6 separate regions of the Homo sapiens genome follow, and regions 1, 3, 4, 5 and 6 are each linked to region 2. Evidence: promoter capture Hi-C in 16 types of primary human blood cells and fetal thymus (Javierre and others, 2016). All regions are on one chromosome and are shown on one strand. The core of a region is centred on a gene start or on the middle of the fragment in contact, and the rest is flanking DNA. Distances in the headings are between cores, read along the strand shown.

Region 1 (2,947 bases), core at 381-2,880, 1.8 Mb after region 2:
TGTTACTGACATAGTTTTCTCTTGCTACTATCAATTATTCTCGGGACTCATGTTGTATGTTAAGGAAGGAAGTATTAAGATTTCTTCCTCATTCCTAAATTTTCAGAATATACTCTAGGCCTTGAAGGAAAGGGAAACAGTCATTCAATACTTAACACTGAGTAGTACAATATTTGAAATATATCTATGATAGTGGCCTAAACAAGAGCAGCAAGGGACCAGACATATAGTTCTACCACTCAATAGAAATAAATTGTATATTTCCCCTTCATTAATACTGTCCAATTTTAAAATGAGAGATTACCTTTGCAAGGCAGCAACTATTGTTTCAGAATGTATTATATTGAAAATTTTTGCCACAAAGTTACCTACTAGACTACAGTACTTTAAAACACAGTTGTTCAAGTCATGGGCAAGGAAAACAAAATCAACAGGACAGATTATTGTCAGAAGCCATTCCTGTGGAGCATTCCTGCTATGCACATAGAATTGAAACTAAAAACAAAGAAACAACCTAATTGCACCTAGGGGGAGACACCTTGTACTTCAAGTGCTCATGACTAGGGGAGTACAGGAAACAGACAGGAATAATAACCTTAAGTATCCTCACAGAAAAAATGAACAGAGACAAAACAGTGTTGGCATTTTAAATCAGATACAAAATCCATTGTTCCTAGACACAAAGTAAGTTAATAATGTTCCACATTTATTTTTTTACCTCTGTACAGCTCCTTTAATAGTCTTTGATTTCAAAACTAAAATCCTCAGTGTTTTGTGTATCTTCAAAAGGCACATACACGTTTTTAAAAGGGGCCAAGTGGAACTTAGCATCACATTAGTCATAAGTCCTTGGTCAACTTGCTTCCAGTTCAAAACAAACCACATTTTTAATAAGCACCAAATACCAAACTACTGCCTTGATTCTCTAAAGCAAATTTTCCACAATGTTCCTAATTCAAGTATTCATCATACTGTGTAACTGAACTTGTCCAGATTTCTTATTATGTGAAGGTTAATGTGCTATTATTATAGGCAGTCCAAAAACAGTGAAATCCTTACAACTTTATAAATCCCTAAATTATCCTTGTTACAAAAAGAAGTCAAGAGGAAATATTCTGGGGTTACAGTATTTCCTCAAAGATAGTTTACTACTTCTGATCACTTTTTAAAATAAACAAAAATGCTATTAAACAAGAAGTTCCTTACTAAGAATAACTTTCTTTTTTTGTTTCGTTTTGTTTTTTGAGACAGTCTTGCTCTGTTGCCCAGGCTGGAATGCAATGGTGTAATCCCAGCTCACTGCAGCCTCCGCCTCCCAGGTTCAAACAATTCTCCTGCCTCAGCCACCCAAGTAGTTGGGGTTACAGGTATATGCCACCATGCCCAGCTAATTTTTTGTCTTTTTAGTAGAGATGGGGTTTCGTCATGTTGGCCAGGCTGGTCTTGAACTCCTGACCTCAGGTGATCTGCCTGCCTAGGCCTCCCAAAGTGATAGGATTATAGGCGTGAGCCACCGCACTTGGCCTATTTCTTAACATTTCTTAGTAGTCAGAACTAGCCATTATGTAGAAAGTTGGAAAAGGGGATGTCCACAGTAGAAATTTTTTATTTTATAGATGCCACCTAAATTGCTGGTTATATTGAAAAGACACTTTACCTCTGTGAATAAAACAAGTGTTTCCTTCTCACTCAATTTCTTGGATTGGGCCTAATTTATTTTTTATATTTCAAAAATCTTTCATTAATAATTATTCCATTAGGGTTTAGTAACTACAGACTCATTTACTAATGATTTACTATGATACCCTAAAAATAGAGAAAAAACCCTAGAATATGAGCGTATGCAAGTAAGTGCAATTTAATATATGAATTGCACAAAAATTTTAAACAAGTTTTAAAAATATCTCTAAAAGGAGGCTTAAAGTTAATTGCTGTAGCCTCCTGTCTTCCACAGAGAAGACAAAATTTTAAAAACATCAAACATACTCAAAAACAGGCAAGCTGGAAAGATAAACAACATGACAGGATTCCCAGTTTAAGTCAAATTCCTCAATAAAACAATAAATGCCCACGTGTTTAACCGGCCATTAATGGAATAAATCAGAATTTTTGTAAAGGTTTCAGAAATTCTGATAATAAGTAACATTAAATTATTACAGAAAAACACAAAACAAATTCAGCAGCTCTACAAATGCTTTCTAAGTAGATAACATGTTAAATGTGATGCCAGGATAGTCAATTTATGAGACACTGTTTTCTTCTTAAAACAATTAAGCTAGCAAATTTAACCCATTTTTCACCCTATCTACTCATCTCCAACTTTAGCCCTTTGAAACATGTCTGTATTTTAGCTTAAGAAAATTTTCATGCCACTTCCCAACCTACAGACAGCTCCACAGGTATCAAAAACCAAAGTGCAAATTCATGGAGTTTTACCATTCCATTACGGACAGTCTAAACAGCCACAGAACTGAAAAGCCTTGGCATACAGTGGTGAACACGATGAAGAAATAAAACATGTAGCTTATTTTTGGTCCTTTGTTCCTGTCCCCTTTTCCTTCACAGTCCATTTCAAAATATGTGCTTGATTTCAGCAATTCAGACCCAAGCCTGTCCAGTGGTCTGGTACCATTAGGAAATACTTGTCCATTGCCTCACAAAACCTAGTCCTGTACAACTCCGGAGACACCACTGTTGGCATTTTACCTGAGATTATGAAAGAGAAAAGGGGGAAAAAGCTGTTATATAATTGATTGGGCAACTGAAGTCAACTGACCATGTTCTTTCATATAAACTGCCATAAAGATACACATGCAGAAGCAGTCTGAGTGGGCAGGAAAGGTTATCTGTTGTGCCACATGCCATGGGACAAAGTCCTACCTGGTACGAGTTTCTGTTTAAAAAGACTAGCTCCTGCCTAGAGATGAGCGATGTCTAAGAGCACAAA
Region 2 (3,090 bases), core at 31-2,530:
TACTTACTGATTTAATTATTTTTCACAACACATCATTAGCTTACAATTTTTATTACAATGAAAGTAAATCAATTTCCTAAAATTCTTCCCTTGCCCCATATCGAGGTGCAATTATTCAGTAATTAAAAAAATATAGCTCCAATAAATGCAGCTGGTCATAAAAATTATTTCAGTAATATCACAATCTACTAGAAGAACCAGGAACGAGTAGCTAATTTTCCAATTCCAGTTATCTATGTTACGGATTACGCTTTGTTATGACTGCAATTCCTTGGATTTCTCCCCTCTTCCGCCCCCGGGATCTTATCCAATTGATAAGGTTAAAATAATGGCTATTATCCTTCTGGCTTAAAAAGCCTAGTGCTCTTCGTTCCTTAAATCATTTCATGTGTAAATTCGGTGCTTAGGAAAGACTGTGATACAACATCTAAGAAGCTACATTTAGAGTTCAGTTTTAAAAAAATCGAGTTCTTGGCTGGGGAAGTGCCCAGGTGCAGGTTTGTTTTGTGGTGAGCGGTTCGCGGGGCCAGGTGCAAGACGCTCAGAAGTGTTTTTGGGTGTCGCTGGCCAACTATCTCCACATAAACTCCGTTTGTTTATTTGACAGCGTTACTGCAGAGGGGAGTTAGGTCCAGCGCCACTCAAACCAGATTTGTAGAGACTTAAAACTGCTTTGTCTGTTTTTTTTTTTTTAATCATAAAACCACCCAGTTGGATCCAAGGCAAATTTGTCACCTACTTCAGGGCCCCTCTGAGGGTCAGAAAGAATTATGAGCGCATTTGAACGCACGGCCCAAATAAAAGCAAACGCACGGAGACTTGCGGACTTGACAATTGTGAGAAATCTCTTAAAACTCGCCTGTGGAGCGGCGGGCGAAAGCCGCGGACGCCAGCAGTAGTCGAGGCCCCGGCGCGGACGGCAGGGAATGAAGTCGCCTGACTTTTCCTCAGGGTTTTGTTTTTCTGTCACGGAGGTACAAAAATAGCAAAGCAGGGGTGGGAAGTCTCCTGGCCGTGTTTTTTTTTTTCCCCCTCGCCAGGGATGGCACTGGGAAAGAGAAGGGAGGAAGCAGGAGCTGCACGGAACCCGTCCCGAGGGAGCCGAGGTAAACCCTGCACCAGAGTTAAGGGAGTCGTGCTCCTGCCACTTCCAGAACACTCCGAGCCGCTTCTGCAGGCCCCGCCCCCTGCCGGGGTTTCCCCGCCACCCGCTTCATTTGCATGGCGCTGCCCCTCCCCCGTTGCCATTGGCTAGCGCCGGGCCCCGCCCACTGCTCCCAGACCGCGGCAGGGTTCCGTCCCCCCGAGCCGCACGGAGCTGCGGGCAGCGGGCGGACTGTTAAACCGCGGCGGCGGCGGCGGCGGCGGCGGCGGCGGCGGCGGCGGCGGCGGCCGGGGCGGGAGCGGGGCGCGCTCTGGAGACGAGTCAGCGGCGCCCCGGGTGGGGGAGGCGGGCGGGCAGCTAGAGATCACCTCAGCAGCCCCCACCACGGCCGGACCGAAGGTGCGGCGGCGGAGGGGAGCCAGGGCGCCCCAGCAGGCGAGTGGCCGGCGTCTCAGCGGCGGGATGACGGGGGTGGGTCTTCCCTCTTGGGGACGGCGGCAGCGCGGGGAGGGGAGAAGACTGCCGGGTGGACTTGCGGGTCAGGCGACCGACCGGCAGCCCCTTCGCCCCCCGAATCCTCTGGGCTGCTGGACTCTGGTCTCGGCACGGGATCGCGCTCTAGGGCGGGGGTCTGACCGCAGCCAAATTTAAACGGCTAAACCTAACAGCCTTGGCAGCTGGGGAGGGAAGGGGTCTAGGGAGGGGTGGGGGCGGACCTGGACGCCGGTCACGTGGGGGGTGGGGCTTGGCAGACCTCCCTTTTGTTTTGGCTGGCGCGTGCGCAGAAGGCAGAACACGTGGTTTCCTGGACCCGCCTCTTGCCTCATCGGCTGAGCCTCACCCATTGGGGGTGTGGTGACGGCTCTTTTGAGGCGGCTCTGAGGCGGAGCCCACTGGATTTGATGAGACCCCTATTTTATTTATTTCACACTTTCTTTCAGGAAAACGTAGATTTGGGCTTTAGAGTTAGATGGGATAGAGCAGAATCTAGGGGATTTTTGAGGGACGGTGCTTCCAAGTTTGTGTCACCGGTGTGCTGAGGAAGGGACCGGTCTTGCTGGAAAAAGTCAGATTGCGTGGTGTTTGGTAGCAAGAAATACCAGGCGGTATCCTGGCCGTTTCAGAAACCACAGGAAAGGAAAGAGGCTGGCTTTGCAGTCGGGAGGGCAGGCACTGGATGGACGTTCTTGTAATGTTTTCTTACTCTGGGAGAGTCCGTTTTTGTTTGTTTTTTTGTTTGAACTGTGGTAAGCACATTCCGTTTTTGATTCCCCAAACTTCAGGACATTCATGTTCTGGCGAGGTTTAGGAGACAAACTTCCTTCGTCTTTAGCCAGTTTGCTTAACTTCATCTGAGTTTGGGTCAGTAATAATTTTAAATATTGCTGGATGGGGCAGGTTTGTTAGCCACAAAACCTAAGTGAAGTGAGCACTGCAGACAAAACTGGCAATTTCTGACTAGGAAAAAATGACTCTAAAAATAATTCAGTATTGAGAAAGAGGCTTAACAGTGAGTGGTCTCTGCCTTTCCCGTTCTTAATAACTAGCCATTTCTTTGGGTTAGTCACCTCTCTGATGTCAAACTTGTTTCGTTTTTGTAAAGTTTCATAATATGGTCTCTGTCTTAAGAGATTGTAAGAAAGAAGAAATGCCTTGTATTAGGAAAAGTGATTCCTAATCTCTACCAATTGCCAAGTAGTGTTATTTTTATAACAAAAGTGAATTTTTTAAAAGCCCACATGTTGGGGAAATATAAACAATGAATTAATCATGAAATAGAATATATTTGAGTATCTTTAAAATCTGTTGTAACCATTATCTTTGGTTCTCCCTCAGTTTCCACCTACTTAGATCAGTGTCAGCGTCTGCAACCATTTCCTCATGGTTTTAATCTACATAGATTATTCTCTCCCGCAAACTGTCTGGAGTAATTTTTTATGTGAAACTTCTTAATCCAGGCCAATTCTCTCACATTGACTTTTAAC
Region 3 (2,999 bases), core at 287-2,786, 1.8 Mb after region 2:
CCGTACTGCTCTTGGACAGCCCCCTCATGCCCTCGTCCCTCAATCAGGGAATGGAATGAAGGGTTTTGCATTAATGTGGGAGGCATAGCAAATTCATCCATGAGAAAGGATATTTCTAGTTGAGAATGATAAGCAACACAGATCATAAATATTAGGATCTCCTTAACTCGAGCCAGCTCATAATCAGAGCCTCCTCTTAGCTTGATTGTACAGCCTAGGTGCTGTGGACAACCTTCAAAAAACATCAGTGTCTTGGTTTGTTCTACAAACAAAAACAAACAGAAAGTTAAGATGGTGGAGGTGGCAATCCAGAAGTACAAATAGAATTAATTCACTCTCTTAATATCTGTAAAAGAAAAACTCTTACATGAATAAGATCACAGTTGCCTATCCTCACTTACCCACTATTAATAGGTATTTCCTAGTAAGTAAACATTGTAGTAGTGATAAGTTAACTCTTTTCCTCAGGTCAATCTATGCTAAAGATCACTCACCATTAGGCAACTGAAATATCTGCATATAAAATTTGTGACAAGTGCCCAGGTGTGGTTTCGTAAGCAGCTGGTCCATTGACATCACTAAATCACCTTGGGTCATTCGACTGATTCGTTCCAAAACTTGCTACAAAACAGAAAAACATTGTATTACAAAACTAGAGAAGAATAAAAATCTTTGTAAATTTAATCTGGAAAAGTAATGGAAAAATTAAAAAATAACATTCACAAATTTCCTTTTTAATAAATATATGATGAATTTTTTTATTCTGGATTCTTCTACACTTAGTTGCTTAGTAATCAATATATGCCCACTGAAACCTTACTCATATTAATAACATTATAAAAATGCACTTAAGCATCATGGATTACCACAAGATAATGTGGGGAGAAAAACAACTTCCTAGAATTGGCCCCTGTTCTGCACAGGGTAAACTTTTCAAGGGAGAGAACGTCTTCTGCTTGAGCAATTCTCCAACAAAAATGAAGGATCAACAAATACCTAGTGATTAACTAATGTCCATTTCACTTTTGGTCTTGTAGACACCAATAAGTATTACATAATCAATTATACTTTCTTCCAGTTCCAGTCTGAAATTCTGAATCTTAATGAAATAGGTGCCATATCTTCTGTCCCACTTTCAATACAAATAGAACAGCAAAGAAAAAAAGATTCTTGTATACCTACCATACGTGCATATAAATTTAAAAGCTGTGATTTTTTTAAAATACAATAGAAAATTAAAAACACTCACTGACTTTACATTAATGACCAAAGTAATGCCATGTTCCAATAACATGTCCTGGGCAATCCGAGACACTGTTTTCTCAACAAGAACCAAGGTGGGTCGAACATCAACTATTCGCTGGACATAATTCTTCAAGAATTCCCTTTCCTAAGTAAGATAAATCAGAAATATTACACCTGGTAAAATGCAGTATCTGGACATATTAAAATATCATCAGAGTGAACAGGCAACCTACAGAATGGGAGAAAATTTTTGCAATCTACTCATCTGACAAAGGGCTAATATCCAGAATCTACAAAAAACTCAAACAAATTTACAAGAAAAAAACAAACAACCCCATCAAAAAGTGGGCGAAGCACATGAACAGACACTTCTCAAAAGAAGACATTTATGCACCCAACAGACACATGAAAAAATGCTCATCATCACTGGCCATCAGAGAAATGCAAATCAAAACCACAATGAGATACCATCTCACACCAGATAGAATGGCAATCATTAAAAAGTCAGGAAACAACATGTGCTGGAGAGGATGTGGAGAAATAGGAACACTTTTACACTGTTGGTGGGACTGTAAACTAGTTCAACATTGTGGAAGACAGTGTGGTGATTCCTCAGGGATCTAGAACTAGAAATACCATTTGACCCAGCCATCCCATTACTGGGTATATACCCAAAGGATTATAAATCATGCTGCTATAAAGACACATGCACAAGTATGTTTATTGCGGCACTATTCACAATAGCAAAGACTTGGAACCAACCCAAATGTCCAACAATGATAGACTGGATTAAGAAAATGTGGCACATACACACCATGGAATACTCTGCAGCCAGAGAAAAGGATGAGTTCATGTCCTTTGTAGGGACGTGGATGAAATTGTAAATCATCATTCTCAGTAAACTATCGCAAGGACAAAAAACCAAACACCACATGTTCTCACTCATACATGGGAATTGAACAATGAGAACACATGGACACAGGAAGGGGAACATCACACTCTGGGGACTGTTGTGGGGTGGGGGGAGGGGGGAGGAATAGCATTAGGAGATATACCTAATGCTAAATGACGAGTTAATGGGTACAGCACACCAGCACGGCACATGTATACATATGTAACTAACCTGCACATTGTGCACATGTACCCTAAAACTTAAAGTATACTACTACTAATAATAATAAAATAAAAAATAAAATAAAAATAAAAAAGAAAATGTGGCACATACACACCATGGAATACTCTGCAGCCATAAAAAAGGATGAGTTCATGTCCTTTGTAGGGACATGGATGAAGCTGGAAACCAACATTCTCAGCAAACTATCACAAGGACAAAAAACCAAACACCGCATGTTCTCACTCATAGGTGGGAATTCAACATTGAGAACACCTGGACACAGGAAGGGGAACATCATACACGGGGGCCTGTCATGGGGTGGGGGAGGGGGGAGGGATAGCATTAGGAGATATACCTAATGTAAATGACAAGTTAATGGGTGCAACACATGAACATGGCATATGTATACATATGTAACAAACCTGCACATTGTGCACATGTACCCTAGAACTTAAAGTGTAATAAAAAAAATATATATATATATATCAAGATAGCTTGACTATTATCAATCTTAGACTAAATTTTCTTCATCCACAAATAAGTCTGTAAGCAAATTAATGCAAACACAGTAAGAATCTCATTCATCATTCTAAACTTGATTATGCTGACAAGAGTTTCAGGAGAAATTCCATTCTCCAAC
Region 4 (3,007 bases), core at 392-2,891, 1.8 Mb after region 2:
TGAGGAGCAGAAGGCAGACTGCAATGAGTAAGCAGAGTTAATGTGAGGTAGCAGTGAATGTGGTGTACAACTTCTCAAAGTTCTACAATAGAGTAAGTAAAACAGAAGTTAAAGGCATAGGAAAAATAAGGGGTACTTTTTGGAGAAAGAGTCAGCCAAAGACAGGAGAGTGATGGATCAAGAGTAAAAAAGAACCATCGGAAATGGCAGCATATTCTCTTTCACTTGTCTGTCTTCTAAATTTAGAACAGTTGTTCTTTGAATTGAAGAAATGTGAAAGTATTTTGATAGTCAAAAAAAAAAAGGCAAAAAAGACCCTCCCACTTAATGTCCTTAAAATCAAAGTCTTTAAGGTGGGGCTATTCCTATATGCAGTATAGTCACTTATTTTTACAAACAGCCTTGAATCTACTATTTCAATGATATAGGGACAAAAATACATAAAGCATATGAAGTGTATTTGCTTTCAAGTAAAAAGCTTTTAGTGCCAGTTTCATTTGGAAAAAAGCGAATTATATTCTGGAATAGAATATATTAAACTATTTCTAACTTAAACCTCCACCTCAAAACTACAAATTCTGAGATGTAACAAAGTATTGTCAAAGAATAACGTAGAAGACATTTAGGGCTCAGATAAAGATGTTTGGGATTGAGCTCCCTTAGTCCCAGTGGTCCTTCCAGAGTTTCCTCTGCTCCAGATTAAAATGTGGAAATTTTAGAATTAAGTACTTCACAGCCCTCTAGTGGCCACTGCTCACCACTGCAATTTAAATTTGGATCATCTTGACTCCAGCAATCTCCCTGCAAATACCCTCTTCCTCCAACAGTATGAGCAGGGACAATTGTTGCAGCATCTTGCTAAGTGCCATATAAGAGCAGACAGTGTCCTAAAGGTGAGAATTCATCAAGTTAAAAATTTCCTCCACCCTGGCACACATATTTTTGTAAATCTGAAATTTTTTCAATGCAGCAAACAGCAAATGACAATCAGAGCAGGCCAAATTCAAGACAACTAACTCCAAGGATGCACTAAGGGACATTACTACAGCAATATTATCTCTTCATTGCTTTTATTTTTCAGTTTAACAAACCAAAAAAAAGATTTACAAAAAGAAAAAAATTCTTTCAATAGGTGAAAACATCAGAAACAATTCCTAGGCCAGCAACTACTCATTTACTCATATATCTCACTTTATGGCTTATCTGTTTCAAGACACTTCACTTCACTTAGCTCTCTACTTATTTTTCTTCTCTTTTGTTTTAGCCAAAGACATAAGAATACATGTTATAGAATATAAGTTTTCATTTATTTATTTATTTATTTGAGACGGGGTCTCACTCTGTCACCCATGCTAGAGTGCAGTGGTGTGAGCTTTGCTCACTGCAGCCTCCACATCCCGAGCTCAAGCGATCCTCCCACCTCGGCCTCCCAAGTAGCTGGACCTACAGGCATGTGCCATCACGCCTGGCTAATTTTTTGTATTTTTGGTGGAGACGGGGTTTTGCCATGTTGCCCAGACTGGTTTTGAACTCCTGAGCTCAGGCGATCCACCTGTCTCAGCCTCCCAAACTGCTAGGATTACAGGCATGAGCCACCGCGCCCAGCCAGAACATATTTTCTTTTGGGTATAAATTGGGGATGGGAACATTGTTCCTAATTTCATCATTAATAGAATTCTTTGTGTACTCTTTTCCTTTATGTACCTATAATGGACAAAAGTTGTAACTATTGCCTAGAGTAAGCATTTTCCCTGCATTTCAAATATGTTTTTTAGTTGACATGCCCTAGTTTATTCAACCACTCCCTCTTATTATATTAGGTATTTGTTTGTAGTGTTTTGCTACTACAAATAGTATATTACTTAACAATTCTAAAAATGTACCTACTTGTGAACATTTTAATTAAGTGAATGCCAAAAAGCTGATCAAACTTAGGGTATATTATTACAAAGTATTCTGGACAAGAAAACTACTTATATGTCCTAACACACACTTCCATGACCTAGAATAGTCTTAAATTGTAATAAACTTGCCCAAAACCAAGGTCCCATCCATCCCAGGATGATGAGGCTTGACCAAGCATCCTTTCTGGGAAATATTCTTTAATCTTTCAAATGACAATCTCTTAAATCAATCAAGTGATGTATTACATGGGATAATCTAACAGTGCTTATCACATATAAACACTTAATAAATGTCAACTACTCATGCCTGTAATCCCAGCACCTTGGGAGGCCGAGGCGGGCGAATCACAAGGTTAGGAATTCGAGACTAGTCTGGCCAACATGGTGAAACCCCATCTCTACTAAAAATACAAAAAATTAGCTGAGAGTAGTGGCGGGCACCTGTAATCCCAGCTGTTCGGGAGGCTGAGGCAGGAGAACTGCTTGAACCTGGGAGGTGGAGGTTGCAGTGAGCCGATATCACGCCACTGCACTCCAGCCCAGGTGACAGAGTGAGACTCCATCTCAATCAATCAATCAGTGTCAACTATTGAGATTTTCCATCTTGCATTTCTTCAACATTAGTGGTGAACCAAAAAGGAAACAAGTAAGGAAAGTTTGGAAGCAAAACTGACATCTTGTCCTACCCCATTATGAGTATGTCATATCACAACACACAGTGAGTGGCAAAAAACTAATACTTTGCAACCTATGATGACTCAGAGAGGCATCTCATCCAGTGAAAGTCCCCTAAATCAATTAAACTTTGAGCATTTCCTGAAAGGTACTGCAACCCTAACAAACAATGTTATGCCTGACCGCAATCTCTACAGATATACCATAAAAGCACTATAAGCTTGGTCATGTTGGGAGGAAAACATTTCATCTGTCAACTTAGATCTGAGTGGTCTAGGGCCTGCGAATTAGTTGAAAATACATTAACAGGAGAAAAGTTTATTCTCCATGCCTGAGGGAGCACTCTGTAAGGAGTCACTTCCCAAACAGCCAGTGGTAAGGGTTTATATACCAACTGAGGCTTCAGTGAGAAAGTATAAAAGGTTCTG
Region 5 (3,266 bases), core at 702-3,201, 1.8 Mb after region 2:
ATTGGCACCATAGGGTTTATAGTGTAGTGGGGGTAAAGAAACAGATAATCCAATAAATAAATAAATATAATCTCTGTGGTAAGTGCTATGAGGGAATTGCTACAGAATGAATGTTTACCCTCCCAGCTCCCACAAAATTCATATGTTAAAATCCTAACCCCCAATGTTATGGTATAAGGAGGTAGGGCCTTTAGGGGGTAATTTAGGTCATGAGAGTGGAATACTCTTGAATGGGATTAGTGTCCTCATAAAAAAGACTGGACACAGCTCTCTCAGCCTCCTTCCACCACATGAGAATACAAAGAGACAACAGCAATCTACAACCCAAAAGAGGACCCTTGCCAGAACCCAACCATGCTGGCACCCTCATCTCAGACTTCTAGCCTCCAGGACTGTAAGAATTAAATTTCTGCTGTCTACAAGCAACTCAGTCTATGGTAATTCATCAGAGCAGCATGAACGGACCAAGACAGGAATCATAAGAGCATATAATAGAAACCTACTCTGACTGGAGCAGGAGGTAAGGGGGAAGGTCTAGTAAATTCTTCTTAGAAAGAACAGGACTGAATGATTAAAAAAGACTGTGTTTCACAAAAAGTGGTTTAGAGAGAAGAGAAACAAACAAAAAGAAAAAAACTATATTAAAAAAAAAAGTTTAAAGGGCCGGGTCCAGTAGCTCAGTACTTTGGGAGACAGAGGTGGGCAGATCACCTGAGGTCAGGAGTTCGAGAGCAGCCTGGCCAATATGGTGAAACCTCGTCTCTACTAAAAATACGAAAATTAGCCAGGTGTGGTGGCGCACACCTGCAGTCCCAGTTACTTGGGAAGCTGAGGCAGGAGAATCACTTGAATCTAGGAGGCAGAGGTTGCAATGAGCCAAGATCACACCACTACATTCCAGCCTGGGTGACAGAGGGAGACTCTGTCTCAAAAATAATAAAAATTAAAAAAATAAAAATAAATGTGAGAGCATGAACAAAGACCATAACATAAGAGGGATCCAAGCCCAATCAAGAAACTGATATAATCAGGTCTAAAGTAGAGAAAAAAGGGACCTTTTATATTTTACTGTCATGTAACATATCACATACTGTACTGTGAGCCCTAACTGTATCTTCCCAAAGATTATGAGCTCCTAAGAGTGATGACAGTTCCTTACAAATCTTATTCTACATCACAGGACACTTAAACAGGCACTAAATAAAAGTTTAAATACTGATTGAATAAATATGTAAGTCAGTTAATAAAATAAAAGGCCTTATTAACAAAAATGTCCACTTTTTGGATATACTTGTTCCATAACAAGGGCAGCATTTGATAGCCACATGGGTCAACCAGTGGAAGAAAAATAAACTTTCACAGCCAGCCTATATTCTTTCCAAATTTGAGTGCACCCCATAAAAAAAAGATCACATGAAAACTTGTACAAGTCACTGTAGTTCATCATCAGTGCTAGGACAATGCCATGTCCCAGCAAATCAACTACCAACCTCATATATAACCAGCAATATGTTTTTATAATTATTAAATCAGTGGATATAGCCACATATCTTTGAAAAAAGATAAACAAACAAGTGTTTCCAGAACAAGTAATTCAAACATTTATAAGTAACACTGGCTAGTGCTTTATCCACTCATCTACTATATCATAATGATTATATATTCTACAAATTACATTGTATCAAAAGACATCTCTTTTACTAAAATGAAATAAAATTTAGGATTGAAAAATCATGCATCAGATAAATATATTTAAATATGAAGCGAGCAACTAAGGAAAAATAACCCCCCTGCTAAGAGCCACTGGTTTTAATAATACTTACAAAGGAAATGGAATAGGATTATAGCTATTTCCTGGAAGCAAATTTGCAAAGATGGCTTTCATGGTTGACTTTTCCTTCACTTGGCTGTCTGTGGATCCCAGCAAATGCCCATCAAACACATCTAAAATGAAAAATAGTCTACTTATATATTAATATTCACAGAGAATAAGAAGTATAAACTGCTGACTTTGGTTCTTTTCCTTTCGGAATATGGACATATGTATACTATACCAATAACAGTTTAAAATTTCTGATCAAGGGAAAAGACCACTATGGGATAAAACAGGAAACAACAGTGAAGCATACACAGCATGGACTCCAAGGGACACTTGTTTTTTTTAAACATCTCTGAAGCACTGTGGCTATTACACCCGAGTTAAATAGCAATTTTAAAGTTAATTTCAAAGTTTATACTATAATTTAAGTAGTTACCACCTAAACAGAAAGCAAGGCATGAATCTGTTATTATGAAGCAAATATCTGTCCTTAGAGAAATGGCTGTAATTCATGTAAATCAATGATATATCTTTCAGTCTTAGATACAATGAAATATGGTAAAAGTGACTTAACCTCTACCTTCGGAACTGCTGGCTGTATCTAGCTCAGGGGGCCCTCCCACTGACTGTTCAGACATGACTTCAGGTGGCGTAGGCAATTGGAGATGAGTAGAACTGGTGGAGCTCTGGCTGGACAAAGTTGTTAAGAAGCGATCCTCTAAAGAAAAACACAATCTTAAATGAGTCATTTACATACATTAAGTCCATGTCTACCTAATATTTTTTAAATGCTCATTCATATGCCTACTTCCTAAAAGGTAGAATTTTTACTTTTTAAAAATCATCTAGGTCATATAGCTCATGTCATAGAAATGGACACAAAAATCCAGAAAGATTATATATGACTTGACTACAATCAAATCCTGGTAGCAGTACCGCAACTGTCAACCAAGACTGACTCCTATCCAACACGCTATCCATTATACCACAATGCCTACCTAAATATTAGTTTTTAGTTTAATAGAGAATGAAATTAGGACACTCTGAGAAAGACGGCATGCTTATTCTGGGAGAGAAAAAGCAATTATAATAGAAAAATGCCAAGAATTGTAAGTTGAGCTCCTGGTTCTACAGTCTATGTAAATTTCCCCACAAAGTTTCTATGATGACACCAAGTTATTCAATGAAATACTGTGAAAGACATCTTAGGTCTAGACAATATTTTAGTGACATTAAAAATGTAAATTAAACTTTATAAGATTTTTGCAATGAAACCTGGGGATTGACTTTGTAATAAGCAAAAAAAATTCAATTTACTTTTTTCTGTTTTTTCTTCCCCTAATAGCAGCCTTCTTTATATTTCATGTATTTCTATAACCTGATTTATCTTATTGCAATACACTATATGATAATCTTAATCTGATAGGATTACAAGTGCTCTACAGGA
Region 6 (3,076 bases), core at 270-2,769, 1.9 Mb after region 2:
AAATTTAAGAACTACCACACCAACTGAAAAAAGTGTTTGATTATCTTTTTCCTTTTTTATTGTCTGATCAAATTTAAAGTAAACAATAAAATGTTTGATTCTAATGGCAGCTTTTTCATCACTGCTGCCTACCAAGTAAAAAAAGTTTTAACTTTCCTCAAACAGCAGGAAAAAATGTTAGAAAAATCATCTTCTAATAAACTACTTTTTATTCCCACTGATGAAGAAAGACTATAAAATAAGCTTGCTACATTCTAATTGGCAGTAAACACTGAAAAGTACCTGCAGTGGTCTATACAGCGCATACTCATCTCTGAAAAGCTGGTCGTGATGACTAACACAATCCAGCCAACGTCCATCAACCATTGCTTGTCCAATTGCTATAGCTTGTGCCCTGAATCAAGACCCACAAAAATGAAAAGTTTTAAAAGTCAGTCAGAATAGTTAAGTACCAGATAAGACACAACCTTAAAATATTTTTTTTCAGTTCTAATCAGAGTTAGAATTTCAAATGGCCCTTGGATAAGTAAAGGACGAAACGAGAGAGTTAAAGCAAACTAAAAGATTCTTCCAGGTACTATAGTAAAGGAGAAGAAACTACTGGTAAGGCAGTCCCAACAAAACCTAATTTTAATAACAGCAAGCATTGACTGAGTATTCAATGCACGCACAACCCTATACTTAACAGATTTTAAAATGTTGAGAAAAGCTCCTACCTTCAAGGAGCTTAGTTTTAATAAGACAATACCAAATATTACAGATACAGCCATAAAATGTGTGTGTGTGTATATATATATATGAAATAGACACTTAATGACACCATACATTATATGGCATTTCACAATTTATAAAGCACTTCAGCCACTATTATTTCATCCCCCACAGTTTATTCACAGGACCACACAATTTTCCTCATGGTGAAGAAGTCTCAGAGATTGAATAATGTGACTAAAAGCACAAAGCTAAAAAATATATACAGCCAAAATTGCAACCAGGGCTTTACTGCTTAAAGCTATTTCTCTCTTTACTTCATTACGTACCTTTTTCTTCCCATGAGAGGAGGAGTAGCTAATCTGAGAAAATAGTAAAAGCTAGGGGATACATGTATTTGAAAAGCAGGACCTGTCTGTTACTCTTTTTTATAAATGATTTGTGAGGCAAGCTAGGACCCGACAGGCATAGCTTATGGATCAAATACTCAACACAGGTTACAACCTGTCTAGATTAGTGAACAGTAGCTGGGGAATTCTTTGGCCTTAGGTTCCAGCTACCTTCTCTAATCCTCCTTTGCTAGAGAGTTCTTCTGCTTTTAATAAGGTAAATTAAGATCCTATTTGGCTCCTTGTACTCCTTGCATCTGTTCTCTGCTGGTTAAAACTCAGATTGGAGGAGGGTTAAGTAATTAGCACCCTAAACCATCAATTACATAAAACAAAGAGCACCCTAACTCTACAAAGAAATCTGTAACTCTTACTATCTTCAAATATGTTTTCTCATTCAAAATAAACAAATAATATTGAAACCTTCTAAGATCAGAATACCTTGTGGCAATATGCCCATTTCGGATTAGCCAGTTGACTAATTCCTTTCCTACAATGCAGTTGGGATGCGTTCTCAACCAGTAGCGGTGATCCTGAAACTCCATTCCACTGCTGTGATGGCAGATTTTTTTCCACAGGTCTTTTAACTGCACACTGTCCTGCAATCACATTAACAGCAAGTAGTTACCCTTGAGAAAAATGCTATATACCTTTTCAGATGTTTTCCTGTGATTTTTAGACTCATAAAAGGAAACCTAACTTGGATTTCTTTATGGTAGCTAACTCACACAATTTAATACAAATGTCATATACGTGGGAACAGCTTGAACTCTGCTCATCTAATTCCAAACATAACTTTTTCTCTTGAAAACCAACTATTCCAAATACTTCTTTTTTCAGTCAATGGCACATATTATCAATCTCCTATTTATGTATTCTTCTTTGGAGATGGGGCAAGGCAGAGGGAGACAACAGTTAATCACACTAACCTAAGGTAACTGTTCCTAGAGGCTTTCACTCCACCAGATTCTCACTGTGTACCCAACTGACAGATGAGTTTTTTAAAAAGAAGAGCTTCAGTAAATTACTCCCTGCTCAAAAAAATTCTGAATGTTCCTCAGCAACTAAAGTTTCAAATCTACACCTGTAAGTACAGAATTCATTGCCTTCCACCAGGTAGTCCCAAATAACTTTCCTTTCTCATTGCCCCCAGACTCCTACTTAAACTCTCTCCCAATTAAAAAATCCTACTTCTGGCCATGGAAAATGTCATGCTTATTCTTACCTCTGTATCTTTCTTCACACCTTTAAATAAGATTCACCTTCCTCACTGCCTATCCAAAATGATTCCATCTCTCAAGGTCCAGTTCAAGTCCTTCAGTTTAAGCCTTTTTCTGATTCCCTCATTAGTAATGAGCTTTCTGTTTTTTTGAATTCTTACATGACATATAGTCATTTATTTATTTGACACTTTTTTATTATTAAAGTATTACTACTTCCACTATTAAGGATCTTCCCACTGATCTTATTTCTACCTTTTGTGGGTTTGCTGGTTTGTTTGTTGTCTTAGAGACAAGGTCTTGCTATGTTGCCCAGGCTGGAGTGCAGTGGCTATTCACAGCCATGATCACAGCACCCTACAGCCTCAAACCCCTGGCCTCAAGAGTCCTCTCACCCTAGCCTCCCAAGTAGCTGGGACTACACGTGCATGCCACCACACCTGGCTCTTATTTCTACTTTTGAATTATAAGCTTGAGGACACAGCCATACCTTCCATTTCTCTGAGTCACTCTTAGAATTGAACACAGTATTTTATGCACAGATAAATTCAATAAGCAACTGATTATTTCATATAAACATATAGTATTAAATGTCTGAAAAGTGTTACATGTGTATAACAAACATGCTTCAAAGCTTAAATAGCAATATGGGATCTAAGAGTTAAGCTCTCTTATTACATAGGTAACTGAATTCTGATTTTACCAGATAAAAGGGTAAAGAAAATACTGGCCAGGCGCGGTGGCTCACGCCTGTAA

Evidence for each region. Contacts are between HindIII fragments. The CHiCAGO score rates a contact against its expected background, and 5 or more counts as called.
Region 1: a fragment that was not itself captured here is called in contact with the fragment with the promoter of KANSL1L in region 2 in 3 of 17 cell types (M1 macrophages, naive CD4 T cells and M2 macrophages); the score reaches 5.4 in M1 macrophages.
Region 3: a contact is called between a fragment that was not itself captured here and the fragment with the promoter of KANSL1L in region 2, in 2 of 17 cell types (naive B cells and neutrophils). The highest score is 8.6, in naive B cells.
Region 4: a contact is called between a fragment that was not itself captured here and the fragment with the promoter of KANSL1L in region 2, in 1 of 17 cell types (M2 macrophages). The highest score is 6.9, in M2 macrophages.
Region 5: a contact is called between a fragment that was not itself captured here and the fragment with the promoter of KANSL1L in region 2, in 1 of 17 cell types (neutrophils). The highest score is 9.5, in neutrophils.
Region 6: a fragment that was not itself captured here is called in contact with the fragment with the promoter of KANSL1L in region 2 in 1 of 17 cell types (neutrophils); the score reaches 7.6 in neutrophils.

Annotation. Positions count from the first base shown.
Region 1 is chr2:208,354,949-208,357,895 of GRCh38, reverse strand. PIKFYVE (phosphoinositide kinase, FYVE-type zinc finger containing) reads right to left here. Exons shown (of 42, transcript NM_015040.4): 42 at 1-2,706. The coding sequence ends at 2,591. Among named protein-coding and RNA genes, the nearest start is that of PTH2R, 50 kb to the left of the region's middle. The HindIII fragment of the contact is 3,331 bases long and covers 1-2,947 here.
Region 2 is chr2:210,169,599-210,172,688 of GRCh38, reverse strand. KANSL1L (KAT8 regulatory NSL complex subunit 1 like) reads left to right here and starts at 1,280. Exons shown (of 15, transcript NM_152519.4): 1 at 1,280-1,540. RefSeq lists enhancers at 351-984, 985-1,620, 2,014-2,193, 1,621-2,255 and silencers at 1,064-1,393, 1,514-1,823. The HindIII fragment of the contact is 7,802 bases long and covers 1-3,090 here.
Region 3 is chr2:208,322,533-208,325,531 of GRCh38, reverse strand. PIKFYVE (phosphoinositide kinase, FYVE-type zinc finger containing) reads right to left here. Exons shown (of 42, transcript NM_015040.4): 18 at 1,250-1,390; 19 at 495-621; 20 at 1-262. Among named protein-coding and RNA genes, the nearest start is that of PIKFYVE, 58 kb to the right of the region's middle. The HindIII fragment of the contact is 5,563 bases long and covers 1-2,999 here.
Region 4 is chr2:208,371,403-208,374,409 of GRCh38, reverse strand. It overlaps a transcript of PTH2R not described here. Among named protein-coding and RNA genes, the nearest start is that of PTH2R, 34 kb to the left of the region's middle. The HindIII fragment of the contact is 2,321 bases long and covers 481-2,801 here.
Region 5 is chr2:208,338,689-208,341,954 of GRCh38, reverse strand. PIKFYVE (phosphoinositide kinase, FYVE-type zinc finger containing) reads right to left here. Exons shown (of 42, transcript NM_015040.4): 30 at 2,400-2,537; 31 at 1,824-1,944. Among named protein-coding and RNA genes, the nearest start is that of PTH2R, 66 kb to the left of the region's middle. The HindIII fragment of the contact is 7,637 bases long and covers 1-3,266 here.
Region 6 is chr2:208,299,560-208,302,635 of GRCh38, reverse strand. PIKFYVE (phosphoinositide kinase, FYVE-type zinc finger containing) reads right to left here. Exons shown (of 42, transcript NM_015040.4): 9 at 1,542-1,699; 10 at 283-394. Among named protein-coding and RNA genes, the nearest start is that of PIKFYVE, 35 kb to the right of the region's middle. The HindIII fragment of the contact is 2,548 bases long and covers 246-2,793 here.